Regions from separate parts of the Homo sapiens genome. Here all the other regions are linked to region 4. Evidence: promoter capture Hi-C in 16 types of primary human blood cells and fetal thymus (Javierre and others, 2016). All regions are on one chromosome and are shown on one strand. Each heading gives the region's core, a stretch centred on a gene start or on the middle of the fragment in contact. The rest is flanking DNA. Distances are from core to core; before and after follow the strand shown.

What was found. Contacts are between HindIII fragments. The CHiCAGO score rates a contact against its expected background, and 5 or more counts as called.
Region 1: a fragment that was not itself captured here is called in contact with the fragment with the promoter of LL22NC01-81G9.3 in region 4 in 1 of 17 cell types (endothelial precursors); the score reaches 6.4 in endothelial precursors.
Region 2: a contact is called between a fragment that was not itself captured here and the fragment with the promoter of LL22NC01-81G9.3 in region 4, in 2 of 17 cell types (endothelial precursors and monocytes). The highest score is 8.3, in endothelial precursors.
Region 3: the fragment with the promoter of SSTR3 here is called in contact with the fragment with the promoter of LL22NC01-81G9.3 in region 4 in 3 of 17 cell types (erythroblasts, neutrophils and monocytes); the score reaches 5.9 in erythroblasts.

Annotation. Positions count from the first base shown.
Region 1 is chr22:36,718,900-36,722,071 of GRCh38, forward strand. All of the region lies in intron 1 of CACNG2-DT (CACNG2 divergent transcript), which reads left to right. Among named protein-coding and RNA genes, the nearest start is that of CACNG2-DT, 17 kb to the left of the region's middle. The HindIII fragment of the contact is 1,383 bases long and covers 945-2,327 here.
Region 2 is chr22:36,834,880-36,838,093 of GRCh38, forward strand. No RefSeq gene overlaps it. Among named protein-coding and RNA genes, the nearest start is that of PVALB, 19 kb to the left of the region's middle. The HindIII fragment of the contact is 1,897 bases long and covers 616-2,512 here.
Region 3 is chr22:37,211,160-37,214,333 of GRCh38, forward strand. It overlaps SSTR3 (somatostatin receptor 3), which reads right to left and starts at 1,318. Exons shown (of 2, transcript NM_001051.5): 1 at 666-1,318. RefSeq lists an enhancer at 157-1,136. The HindIII fragment of the contact is 10,151 bases long and covers 960-3,174 here.
Region 4 is chr22:36,963,623-36,966,589 of GRCh38, forward strand. LL22NC01-81G9.3 (a long non-coding RNA gene) reads left to right here and starts at 1,626. Exons shown (of 4, transcript NR_038954.1): 1 at 1,626-1,891; 2 at 2,768-2,885. The HindIII fragment of the contact is 1,620 bases long and covers 1,483-2,967 here.

The DNA of each region.
Region 1 (3,172 bases), core at 386-2,885, 240 kb before region 4:
GTTCAAAAAAAAAGTGAACCAAGCCATCTCAGTAAGATCATAATGATTTATTGGATTTATAAGCTCTATGATCATTTAAATACATTTACCTACATTTTGTGGTGCTAAATTCATCTATAACAGAGGAGTAATTTAATTCTGAAGCCACATTAACTGCTCTTTGCCTTCTCGCAAAGTCACCCACTCTTGATTTTTTTTGCATAACTTAATTCAGTTTTTCTGCTCTTGCTACATTTTCTTCAGCTCCTACACATTTTTTGGGAGGTGGTTATAATGTTATTATCTTATTATTAGTCACTAACCGGGAATAATTCACTTTTCCAATTGATCTATGCTGCCTACAAAATGCCATATCAACTGGAAGCACAGTCTGGTTAGTGAGTTTTGAGAGCCAGTTCAGACAGACCACTTTGTGTGACAGGCTTGGCTCAGGCAATGATGACCTCTATGAGCTGAATTTACCTGTGGTCAAACGGTCCCAGTGTTGGAAGAGCATCCACAAGCCAGATTCTCAAGGGTGCGGCAGGGGTACCTGATTGTGTCCAACTCATGTTGTGTGCTGAATATTTTACACAGTTCCTGCTAGTTTGCATTTGTCCTAAATAAATTTCTGACAATGTCAAGTTCAATGGATTCTCTAGATAAAACATCCCTGAGCACCATGTTTCCCTTGAAAGGATGCCCAGCTGCATATGCACATTTGTGGTGTAGCCTTCACACAAACACACTTATTTGGGTAAAGTAGAAGTGTGTATGTGGGAACTAATACATCCTTCTGCCATCGTGACTCAAGCCTGAGGAGTGTTAATTGTGGATGAGTGGGGTTTTGGGGCATAAGCAATTGCCTGGTTCACTTTATGGTAGAATCACCCCGAAGCTGTGTATTGGGAGGAGAGAATGAGGACGGAACATTAGGTGAACTAAAAGGAGAGGCTATAAACTGAAGCTTATTCTTTGGGTAAGAGCAAGCCAAATTTATTCATGAATGGGTGTTCCTGGCCTTTGCTTTCCTGCTGTCATCTAATCAGGTTTTCTTGATTCTTGACTAGGTTTTTGGAAGAACTTAGGGATATAGAATCAAAAAGAAAGGAGGAGAAAGAAATGAACAAGAAGCCCTCTATTTAGGGTTCAGGAGAAGTTTTTCAGGGTGTTAGAGGAAAGGGTGGGAGAACCATAGGGGTGACGAGGGAGACAAGAGGGCATAGAAATTTTAAGAGATATCGCTACAGATATCTCCAATCCGTAGAGTAACCTGGTGGGCTTTGCATGTGGCTTTGACCAGTCATTGGCCCTTCTGGGTCTCCTCATCTCCCCATCTCTCAGAACTTGGACCCCAGGAAGCCAAAGGGCCTTTCTAGTGCTCACATTCAGATGTCAAATGGCATCCTCAAACTATGCTTGGTCCAGGACTCTGGAGAGATCTGGATTCCTATTGACTCAGAAAATTACTCAGTATTATTTTATCTGGTGTAAGCCACATCCCTCTTCTGTGCCTTGATTACTCTATTGGCTCATCAAGGACACTGAAATAAACACAGGGGACTCACAACGTGATATTCATGAAGTTGGGTTTCTTTTTTTCTTTTTTTGAGACAGAATCTTGCTTTGTCTCCCAGACTGGAGTGCAGTGGCGAGGTCATGGCTCACTGCAGCCTCAACCTTCCAGTGTCAAGTGGATCCTCCCTTCTCAACCTACCAACTAGCTGGAACTACAGGCACATGCCACCACGCTCGGCTCATTTTTAATTTTTTTTTTTTTTTTTTTTTTGTAGAGACAGAGTTTTGCCATGTTGCCCAGGCTGGTCTCAAACTCCTGGGCTCAGGCTATCCTCCCACCTCCGCCTCTTGAACTGCTGGGATTATAGGCATGAGCCACCCCGCTCAAACCAAAGTTCTTTTAATAAAGGAATTCCGCAGTGCAGGGTAGACAGCTTCCTTCTATCTCTCATATGTAAACTACCTCCTTTTCTTGCTCTCCTTTTCCCCTGACCCATTGTCTCCTTCTCTCCTCCTCAGGAGGCTGGATGGGGACACATACCATGAGTGACATCTTACCAGAGGGTGGCCATGAACTTCATCATGTTCCACAACTGTTAATGACCACTGGCGCTGGCCCTGCTGCTCTCTGAACTCCTCTCTGTGGAACTGTGCCCCTTCTCTGGGAAGAGTCCTTGAAGCTCTACTGAGAATGAAACCTCTTCTTTCAGCTCATGTCAATCTTGGTATTTTCCCAACATGTTCAGGTTCTGGCTTGGAGGTGCTATCTGTTGTTGACTTTGGACATAAACGAAGCTGTTATTTGCCTCTTTTGGTTTGTTATGTTAACAAGCTTTTGGGATTTGTTCTTTAAGATTCCCCACCCCTATTGTATGATGATAGGTGCTGGAACCAGACTGGTTGGGTTCAAATTTTTGCTGTCGCTAACTTGCTTTGTGAACACATGTCAGTTACTGAATCTCCCCGTGCCTCAGTTTTTTAAATATGTAAACAGGGAGTTCTCGTAGTACCCGTGGGTCTTAGTCAGTTATTGCTATAGAACAAACCACCCCCAGACTTAGTAACATCAACAACAACTATTGTTTTTTTCATTCATGCATCTGGAGAGAGGCTGGGGAGGAGGAGGCTTGGGTTTGGCTTATCTAGGTGGGGCTTGCTAGGCTTGGCTCTGAGCTGTGGATTAAACACAGGTCTTCTCCATTTGTCTTTCATCTTCTTTGGGCCACCGGCTACATAAGGCATGTTCTGATGGCAAAGAGGAGAATTAAAGGGGAAGTCCTATTGGCCAAAGCTGGTCAATGGGAGAGAGAAGCGTACGCCCCTAGGGAGAGACAGAGGGGAGTGAATTTTTGTTGAACAATTATCCTAACTATCACACTGTTGTGATAGTTAAATGATTTAATAACTTTAACAGGCTAATAACAGTACCTGGCATGGAGTAAGTATTCAATAAATAACAAACATTGGTAGTGATAATATCAGTACTAGTGGTAATATTAATATTGGCATTTTTAGTAGTATATGCACACCTCAGGTACTCTTTTCAAAATATACATTCACACTAAAGTGTAAATGTCTGCTGGTATAACACAGACCTCAAATGTGTATGTTTAACAGGAGCAGTTAAGCCAGAGGTGAAGGCATAAAGGTAGATTTTTGAGACTCAGTAAAATCT
Region 2 (3,214 bases), core at 314-2,813, 130 kb before region 4:
AACTCGAGCTCAAGCGATCCTCCCAAAGTGCTGGGATTACAGGCGCCAGCAATCAAGCCTGGCCAGAACATTGATTTTTTTGACCTCAAATCCTGTGCAATGAGCCACCATATCGTCGTACAGGTATGTGGACTTGTACCTTGTCCACAGGGTGTGGGAGTAGAGTCTCATAGATGGAGCAAGAAATGAGAGCTCACACACCACCATGAGAACCAGCGTCTGCTGGTGTTAGAGGCTCCAGCACATCCTAATTTTCCCTGAGCGTCTTTTCCCAGCAATGTCTCTGGAATGGAAGTAGGTACACATGCGTACTTAAATATGTACCTATTTCCATATGGTTACTTAAATATGTACCTATTTCTATTCCAGAGACATTGCTTGGGAAATGTGATAAGTGTCACATCAACTGAATGGGGATAACCAGAAAGTAATGTACCTCCCCCTGCCCTGGCTCTGATGTTGTAGGTCTAGTCCTTTCCCTAGTCCTGGAGGAAATCTTTTTACTCAGGTAATAAAAAGCTTTCCGTGCTGGTGGCCACACATATCTGTCAGTTAGATAACTAGCATGTCCAGTCTTGTTTAATAATCAAAACCCCAAACTCTGTTCAGAGGTAAAGCTTTGCCCCTGGCCTAGCTGGAGCCTGGTGTGAGGGGAACCTGTGGTGGGAAAGGGGGACGTGTCACCACCTTGAGCTTCCAGTGGCAGCCAAAATCCTAGCTGAGTGCAGTCATATGAGTGACCCCAGATGGCACCAGCAGCAGCAAAGCGACTATCCGGCTACCAACCTGAAGAGTCCTTACAGATAATCTACCATTGAAGATTGATGTTTAGGGTGGGTTTTCCATGGTAATAGACCATTGAACTACACCTAACAGTTTCTCTTTAGGGTTGGGGATCATAGTACCCCAAGAGCTCTCTCTAAAGAACAACCTGCATACTTCGACTTCTCTACCTCTGCAATTTTAACCCTTTTATACCTTCCAATGCATGAAAAGCCAAGAGCCATGAAACTGGTTTTTTACCTTCTCCTTTGCAAGTCCAGCATGAGGGGTCTAGAACAGGGCTTAGCAAACTATAGTCTGTGGCCAAATGAGCCATGGCCCACAAAACCTGTTTGCTATCTGGCCCTTTAAGAAAAAAATGTCCCGTTTGAAATATGCAGGCAACAGTGTCTGATGGGCAAGGCTCGTGTCTGGTGCTCATCTGTATCAGTCCGCATGGACTCAGTTGTGCTGCAGTAACAAACAATCACGCAAGTTTCAGGGACTGGAATCTCACTTTGGAATGTGAGAACAGGTGGCAGCTCTTATCATAGACCCTCAGCTAAAACTGAGATGGAAATAATTGCATTATAACAGACCGTTACAGATGTTTGATGAATAGAGCATTCCATGGCCAAATACATTCAAGAAATGCACTGTGGATCACCCCTGTAATCCCAGCCCTTTGGGACGCTGAAGTGGGCAGATTATCTGAGGTCAGGAGTTCAAGACCAGCCTGGTCAACATGGTGAAACCCCATCTGTACTAAAAATACAAAAATTAGCTGGGCATGGTGGCATGAGCCTGTAATCCCAGCTACTCGGGAGGCTGAGGCAGGAGAATCGCTTGTACCCAGGAGGTGGAGGTTGCAGTGAGCCGAGATTGTGCCACTGCACTCTAGCCTGGGTGACCGGGCGAGACTCTGTCTCAAAAAAAAAAAAAAAAAAAAAGAAATACACAATGGAAAAATAAAAGGCAAACAAGATTCTTTCATTGAGCCTTCTCTCCAAGGTGGGAAGAAGAGGCCTGTAACGTCCTATTGTCCTATAGCTCCTGGACCCTTTCAGCTGGAGCATCCCCCGTGACAACTGGGGAACTCCTGTTGCCAGATGCAGGATGGTGGACGTGAGAGAGGCAGCTGGAGCCAGGCAGAGTTTCTCCACCCTGTGTCTTCATCTTAGCCTTTCTGCCCTCTTTCTTCCTTAGAGTTATCTGGCTGTCTGCTCATCTGGTCATAAACCGTTTTGTTCATATTAGGCCATGAGAAATGTGCAGTTCTTGGGTGGGGGGAGATGAGGAGGGAGGCTGGGGATTTTGCTTTTGAAGAATGCAAGGAAAGGACAAAGTTGAATCTAGTGATCTCACTTTCTTTCTCTTTTGTCACCATCAAAGCTGTGATTTGCCACTTAGCCCCCTCGAAACAGTTTCGTGGTTTGCTGGAGTTACTTCTGAGCAGATTTATTTATGATCAGAAGGAATATTTTATACCAGGAGGAAATTAATTCTGCTCAGCCTTCCTGCACATTCCTTTGACATGACAGGCTCCTCTTTTGAGGGCTGTTTTAACCTCTAGCTTCTCCCTTTGATATATTCAGGAGGCCCCAAAAATGCTGAGCCATCATCCTCACTCCTGATGGCCTTGCCATCATTCTGAGAACTAAAAAAGAATTAAATTGCAGTGGAAATGGTCACAGAATGCTCTTTTCTCTTTGGAAAGCTAATGTTAATTTGGAGTGAGATTTATGTAGGAAGCTTAAGGAATCTGTTAAAAGAAACATTGAGTTGATTTTCTAATTGACCACCATGTTGCATTTACATGTGTGACATCTGCAGATGCTCCAATAGTACGACTACACACATAAAGCTTTAGTGATTTGGTGATTGCCAAAAAGGCAGTATTTTTTCTGATTGGCATAATTTCTACCTCCAATTTACTGGAACACTGGGCATGACTGAGACGCCTTTTTAGTGATGTCTGCTGTTCTGCATGTTCAATAAACATAAAATTGAGAGGCTTGGCCATGGTTGTGTATGTGCAGCATCTGTGATCCAAGTGGAATTTAATGGTGGAATTGGGGCTTAACAATGGAATCCTGGGAGTGATATTTGGGCCTCAGGGCCCTTACTCTGCAGAAATGAGTGATGGGGCCTGTATTAGTCCATTTTCACACTGCTGATAAAGACATACCTGAGACTGGACAATTTACAAAAGAAAGAGGTTTATTGGACTCACAGTTCCACATGGCTGGGAGCCCTCAGAATCATGTCAGAAGGTGAAAGGCACATCTCATATGGAGGCAGACAAGAGAAGAGGACTTGTGCAGGGAAACTCCCCTTTACAAAACCATCAGATCTCGTGAGACTTATTCACTATCATGAGAATAGCAGGGGAAAGATGCGACCCCATGATTCAATTATCTCTCACTGGTCTCTCACACAACACATGGGAATG
Region 3 (3,174 bases), core at 68-2,567, 250 kb after region 4:
GAAGGATCAAAGGCCATGACAGTCCTGAATAGTGCAGGGCGATGGCCCCTGGCTCTCTGCTTGTCCTCTACATGCTTCGGCCTTCCCCCCAAAGACACCTGGCTTATGCTTGCCAGTGCCGACTGACTCACTGGCACCCCAGGCCTGGGGCCTGATCCCAGGAGCACACCCTACAGGCCCAGCGCTGGGGGCTTGGGCTCTGCTGCACAGCGATGATGCCAAATTGCTGTGTGACCTCGGGCAAGTCACTTCTCCCCGCTGCACCTCAGTTTCGTCATATGGAAGACAAGCGGACCCACCTCCCAGGGTTGTTTGCAGAGATTAAACGGAGGCGTGCCAAGCACAGTGCCGGGTATGGAGGGGGAGCTCAGGAGAGCTGCCACGTGAGCTGGGGAAGCCAACGACATGATACATCTGGCTCCCTCCAGCCCTGACAGCCTGCGATTCTGTGATTCCGAGATCCTAGAATCATGGCACGAGATTCTGAGACTAACGCCCCTGCCCCTGCAGCCGACCGGGAGGTCACAGGAAGGCCTCCCTCCTGCCTCCCTGGGAGTCCCCACCCTCTGCCTCCCCAGCCCCAGCCTCCCAAGTTCATCCTGGGCAGAGGATGGGCTTCCAGGACCCCACCCTTCGGGACATCATCCGGGCCCCAGCCTCCTTACCTGCCCATGGGGTGAGGGCTTCCCTCCTTGCCGCCAGGCTGGTTATCATTCTGCTGTCCCCTCTCCCTGCCCAGTCCCCAGGTGCCCCCAGGGCACTCCTAACTAGGGTCCCCACAAGGCACCCACTTCTAGACCGCTTGCGGGCTCAGGTTCCCTCCCAGGCCCTCGGCCACGGCTGTCCACAGAGCCTCTCCCATCTGGTCTCCGGCCCTGACTTCCCAACCAGAGCCTGGTACGTCACCCCCCATCTCCAGGACACATCCTGGGGGGGCAGGGGCAAGGATAGGGGGGAGAAGCTTCCCAGGGTGAGGAAGAGAAGAGGGGAGCAAGGGACACAGAAGCCAATAGAAATAGAGGGGAAAGGGGGTCGGGAGGAGGTGGAGAAAGAGAGAGAGAGAGAAAGAGGGAGGGGGAGAGAGAGAGAGGGAGAGGGAGAGGAGACCGTGAGTAGGAGGAAAGGCAGAATGAGGGGGAGTGATGAGAGATGCGTGACAGGGAGAAGACGAGAAGGAAAGAGAGGAGAGGAGACACGGGTGAGAGGGAGAGATGCAGAGAGAGGCAGGAGGGAGGAAGGAGAATGAGGGGGTGGCAGGGAGAGTGACAGAGAGGGACTGTGCCACAGATGGTGACATGGAGCCCGTGAAGGAGGGAGTAAGCAGGGAGGGGCTGAGGGCCGGAGAGCAGGTGTGGGGGGTGGGGGCGGGGTGCAGGTTAAGGGAGGAGGCCCGGAGAGGGAGCAGGAGGGGCGCAGACCCTGTTACCGGGGAGATTTCAGCCACCCACGCCCGCTGGCCTTGGCTCCTGCAGGGAGTTGGAGAGAAGAATGTGCTCAGTGCTCAGGGGAGCCGAGGCTGCCAGCCAGTAGCCAGAGCAGCTCGTGAGGCCACTGCGGCACAGGTCCCCCGGGGCAGCAGCTGTGTCCCAAGGCAAGGCTGGGTGTGGGGCTGGCCAGCCCGGGAGTCCACAGTCCAGCCCTGCAGTCGGGCACACCGGCCGCAGCACGGACCACTGGGGAGGCCGGGTGGGGGTCATTAGTCCTGGGATTGGTTACATCTGGAGAGCCCCAGGCAGGGTGAGGAGTGGAAGGACAGAACAGAGAACCAATATTTTAGGCTTTGAGGGCAAAATCATTGTGCAGTGAGAAAACAGATTTTTACTATTTTGTAACTGACAAAACTCAAAATAGAATAATAATAATTGAGGCCAGTATTTTGTAATGTAGGTCCACTCATGAGAAGAATAGAGTTCTTTTTACAGACATCACCTTTTGCTTAATTGGAGTTTAGAGTTAGTGTTTCATCAAACCGATTGCAAATGTTCATCCGTAAAAACCATTCTCAGCTCCTAGGCTGTACAAAAACAGGCAGTGGGTGGGATTTGCCCCGTGGGCCATATTTACTGATCTTTGGTCTAAGAGACTCTGCCGTACAGTCCTGAGCACAGGCCCAGATGTCTTGGGATGCCGTGCCCCTGCCTGTGCTGATTCCTGCCTCAGCACAGGAGTGATAAGGAAAGGAACAGTCAGAGACGGAAGGGAAAAGGACACACGTCTTGGCTGAGCACCTACTATGTGCCAGGCTGTACCTAGGCTGCTTTCCAAACTGGGCCATTCCCTGGGACCAGGGCTGGACCTCCTTTGTCACTAGGTACCTGGCACTGCAGAGAACTGGAAGTTGAATGCATCCAGAGGTGCCACCATGCATGCGGCAGCACACAGTAGGACACACCCACTTCCAGCCGGAGCCGGCCTGGTCTCTTAACGCTGCCCGTCCCTTTGCCTTGTGCCCGGGACAAGGCCCTTGCTCCAGGTCTCAGCCTCCCATTGTCCTTGTCCGTACAAGTTCATGAGGTGTGGGTGGGCTCCTGGGAGCGTGTCCTCAGGGTCAAGGGTGGGTTTTCCATGGCACTGACCACCCACCCCTACCCACGGCTTCTCACTGCCCTCAGAATAAAGCTCTCTCGCCGCAGCCCACCTGGCACTGCATCCTTGATTCCTGCCGCCTGCGCGGGCCTCCTCCTCTGCTGATTTCACTCGCTCCTCTGTGCCCCAGGCGTACCCAGCCTCATGTATTCATTCACTTATTCCTGCAGGTTGGGGTATAGGGGCTGAAGACTGGACAGGGGAGTTTGAGCCCCAGCTCTACCCCTGCCGTGCACTGAACTTAAACTTCGGTTTTCTCCTTCAGTAGATTGTACACACCTGACTGCCTGGCCTGGGGGTTCTTGCGAAGGTTAAAGGAGTGAATGCTCATCAGTGTGCCCCCTGCCACACACCTCCCCAGCACCGAGCCTTACTGCTCCAGCCTGGAACCCGTCCACTGCTCTCCATCCACAGGCTCCCGTCTGAGCCAGGCCACTGAAGGGGTTCAGGACACGCCACCCCAGAATACACCACTCTGGCATATTGATTTCTCTGCACTAAAGGCACTTCAGAAACAGCAGGTGCAGAAAGGGGGCTCTGACCTCCCCTTTTCTTCCTGAAAGCAGGAGCTAAAACGCCTTGTGAAAG
Region 4 (2,967 bases), core at 376-2,875:
TTGTCCCATAAGCAGCTTGAGAGCAGAGGTGAGGTAGGTTTTGTGCAGTTTTGAATCCTCAAAGCTTACCATACTCCCAGACATATACTAGACATCCAGAAAATAAGGTTTAAACTCAACAACTTTTCCTTTTCCCATAACGTCTCAAGTTCCACTTAATGATTTTCAATGATTATTCAAAGAGGACTATATATCTTTTAAGAATTAATTTGTCAGAAAAGGGATTTCTGGCTGAAAGAATTACAGATTGAGTTTCTGTTTGTAAGTCCAAGAGCCTGCGGGGTTATATGCCTGCTGCGCATGTCATTTAGGGAGTGGAATTTCAATTGACTTCCGTTTTTCCTTTTTGTAAAACACTGTTTGTAATTTTACCACAAATGCACATTTATGTAATAAAAGCATAATTATAATGTTCATTTAAAATGATTTTTTCCATCTAATTCACATTCACTTAGCAGTTTAAAAAGCATAAGATATGTTTACTGCAAATTGCATCTGAAATGCTTCCCTATGTTTGAGAATGAAGTTTCAGCTAGAACAGTGACTCCTGAGATGTACTCTGCTCAGGTGTTTCCAAACTTGGTGACCACAGTCCCTCTCATCCTGCATGCTCCTCCACCTTCTGACTTTGCAGCTCCTCCTATAAGGATGTGGAATCTCTTTCCCCTCCCCTTGGGTCTGGGCCTCCTTGTGACTTCCTTTGGCCAGTAGAAGGCAGTGGGGGTGAAGCTATATGATTTCTGAGACTAGGCCTTAAGAGGCCTTGCAGCTTCTTTTGCTCTCTTAGAAGTCAGCCATGGTGTAAAGCAGTCCAGGCTCTCCTACTGTAGAGGCCATGTGGAGACAGAAACCCTGGAGGATGGGAAGCCATGTGGAGGGGAATAAGCCAGTGAAGCCCTCTCTCACTCCACCCTCGTCAAGCTCCCAGCTAAATGCAGCCACATGAATGACCTCACCTGCTTTGTGGAGCAGAAGAACCACCCAGGTGAGCCTAGCCAACCCACAGAATGGTGACAAATAATAAATGGTTGTTGTTTTCAGCCATTAAGCTTGGGAGGTGGTTTGTTAGGCAGCAGTCAATCATTTGTTCTTATGACAGACATTTGTTTGCTGGTTAGATTGGATGTAACCTGGGATCACATGATCACACATTCACAATGTCAGAAATGTCCCCAACAACAGACACTTGGCAATTTGGAATTAATAAACCCAGCTTCAGAGAATCCCTGTTTCCCAGTCACTGTTTCTCAACTTTCCTACACTGCCACCAAGTATGAGCCAGCGTCTATCCCTCTCACATTCCTCACCCCATTAATAGACTCCCTGTTTTTCTTGTATCTCGTTAATTTCTGGTATGTTTCCTAGGACCTGAAAACATAACCAACTGTCTTTCATCTTAAAAAAAAAAACTCCCCCTTCCCTCACCCCAATCAAGTATCCACCTTAGGCTTCCATACCATCTCTTTCTCCTCTTTCTAATCAAGCTTTTCCAAAAAGCTGTCTTCATATTCCCATTTCCTATTCACTCCTCTCTCTATTTATTATGACCTGGCTTTAGAATGGTCTTCCGCCAGCATCACAGAGGAGCTCCACATCACATAACCAGATGGATTCACCCCTGCCTTGACCTCTCAGACACAACACCAGCACCATGGCCACTCCTAGAGCCTTAAAAGTCTCTCCATTTTTATGCCTCCCACCACACTCTGCTTTCTCCTTCCCGCTCTGACTTTCCCTTCTCTGTTCCCCTCCTGGCCTCCCGAGCACCTCAGCCAGGCCCTTAGGCACCAGTGTCCTCAGGGGTCTCCAGGGCTCCTCTTCTCATCCCGGTCTACGTGCTCTGCTTTCAAGTTTGCAGGCTCTCTCAGGTTTTACCTAAAGGTTTTCCTAAGTAAGTGTTCTTCCCCCAAACCTAAGAGCTATGAATTCAATGACCTATAGAACCTCTTTCCTTGTATGTTCCAGAGACGAGATACCTCAAGCTCCACGTGCCAGAATGTGACTCTTTGGCCACCCCCCAGCCCCCTATCCCCTACTCCCAGTGACTTTGTCTCTTGTAAGAGGCCTTGCCCTAGGCCACTGGTTCTGCTAAGGCCAGAGAAATGCCCACACACATGGTTGCTTATGGGAAGGGGTCATCTGAGCCAAAAATGGGGAATAGAGGCAGCTGCATGCCTTGAGCCACACTTGCAGAATCTGCCTGTCCAGGCCTCTCTTGTTCTCAGTGGTGACCTGTCTGCCTCCTGTTCCTGGGTCTTCCTCTTTCTGTGACTGAGACACCCTCCCCCACTGCCCGGCTGGAGGCTCAGCTCCATCCTCAGCTCCAGGACCAGCCCTGACCCGGGGAAGGAGGGGTTCACAGGGTCACAGTTGTGCCTATACTTCCTTGAACCTCTGTCCTCATCCCTGGGCCCACCCTTGCTTCTGAGAGCTGGGCCACCCTGTGTGGCCTCTGACAACTGAGTTCCTGCCTTCTTCCCCATGCTGGAGTTTGTTCTACAAAGCTCAGATTGGAGACCTTGTTGTTCTTGATTACAACTTACTTCTCTGTTTCCCTACCTCTACAGATGTGGTTTCTAGACAGTTTTCAATTATATTGATGAGTAAAAAATTTTTAAAAACAGAAAGAAAAATACAACTTTATTTTTAAATAAAAAAGAAAATATCATTTACTATCAACATCATTTTCTACTTTAAAAAAAAGACATTTTATTTTATTTTATTTTATTTTATTTTACTTTATTTTATTTTTTGTTTTTTGAGACAGAGTCTCACTCTGTTGCCCAGGCTGGAGTGCAGTGGCATGATCTCAGCTCACCACAACCTCCCCCTCCCAGGTTCAAGCAATTCTCGTGCCTCAGCATCCCGAGTAGCTGGGATTACAGGTGTGTGCCACCACGCGCAGCTAATTTTTGTATTTTTAGTAGAGATAGGGTTTCACCATGTTGGCCAGGCTGGTAAAAAGGG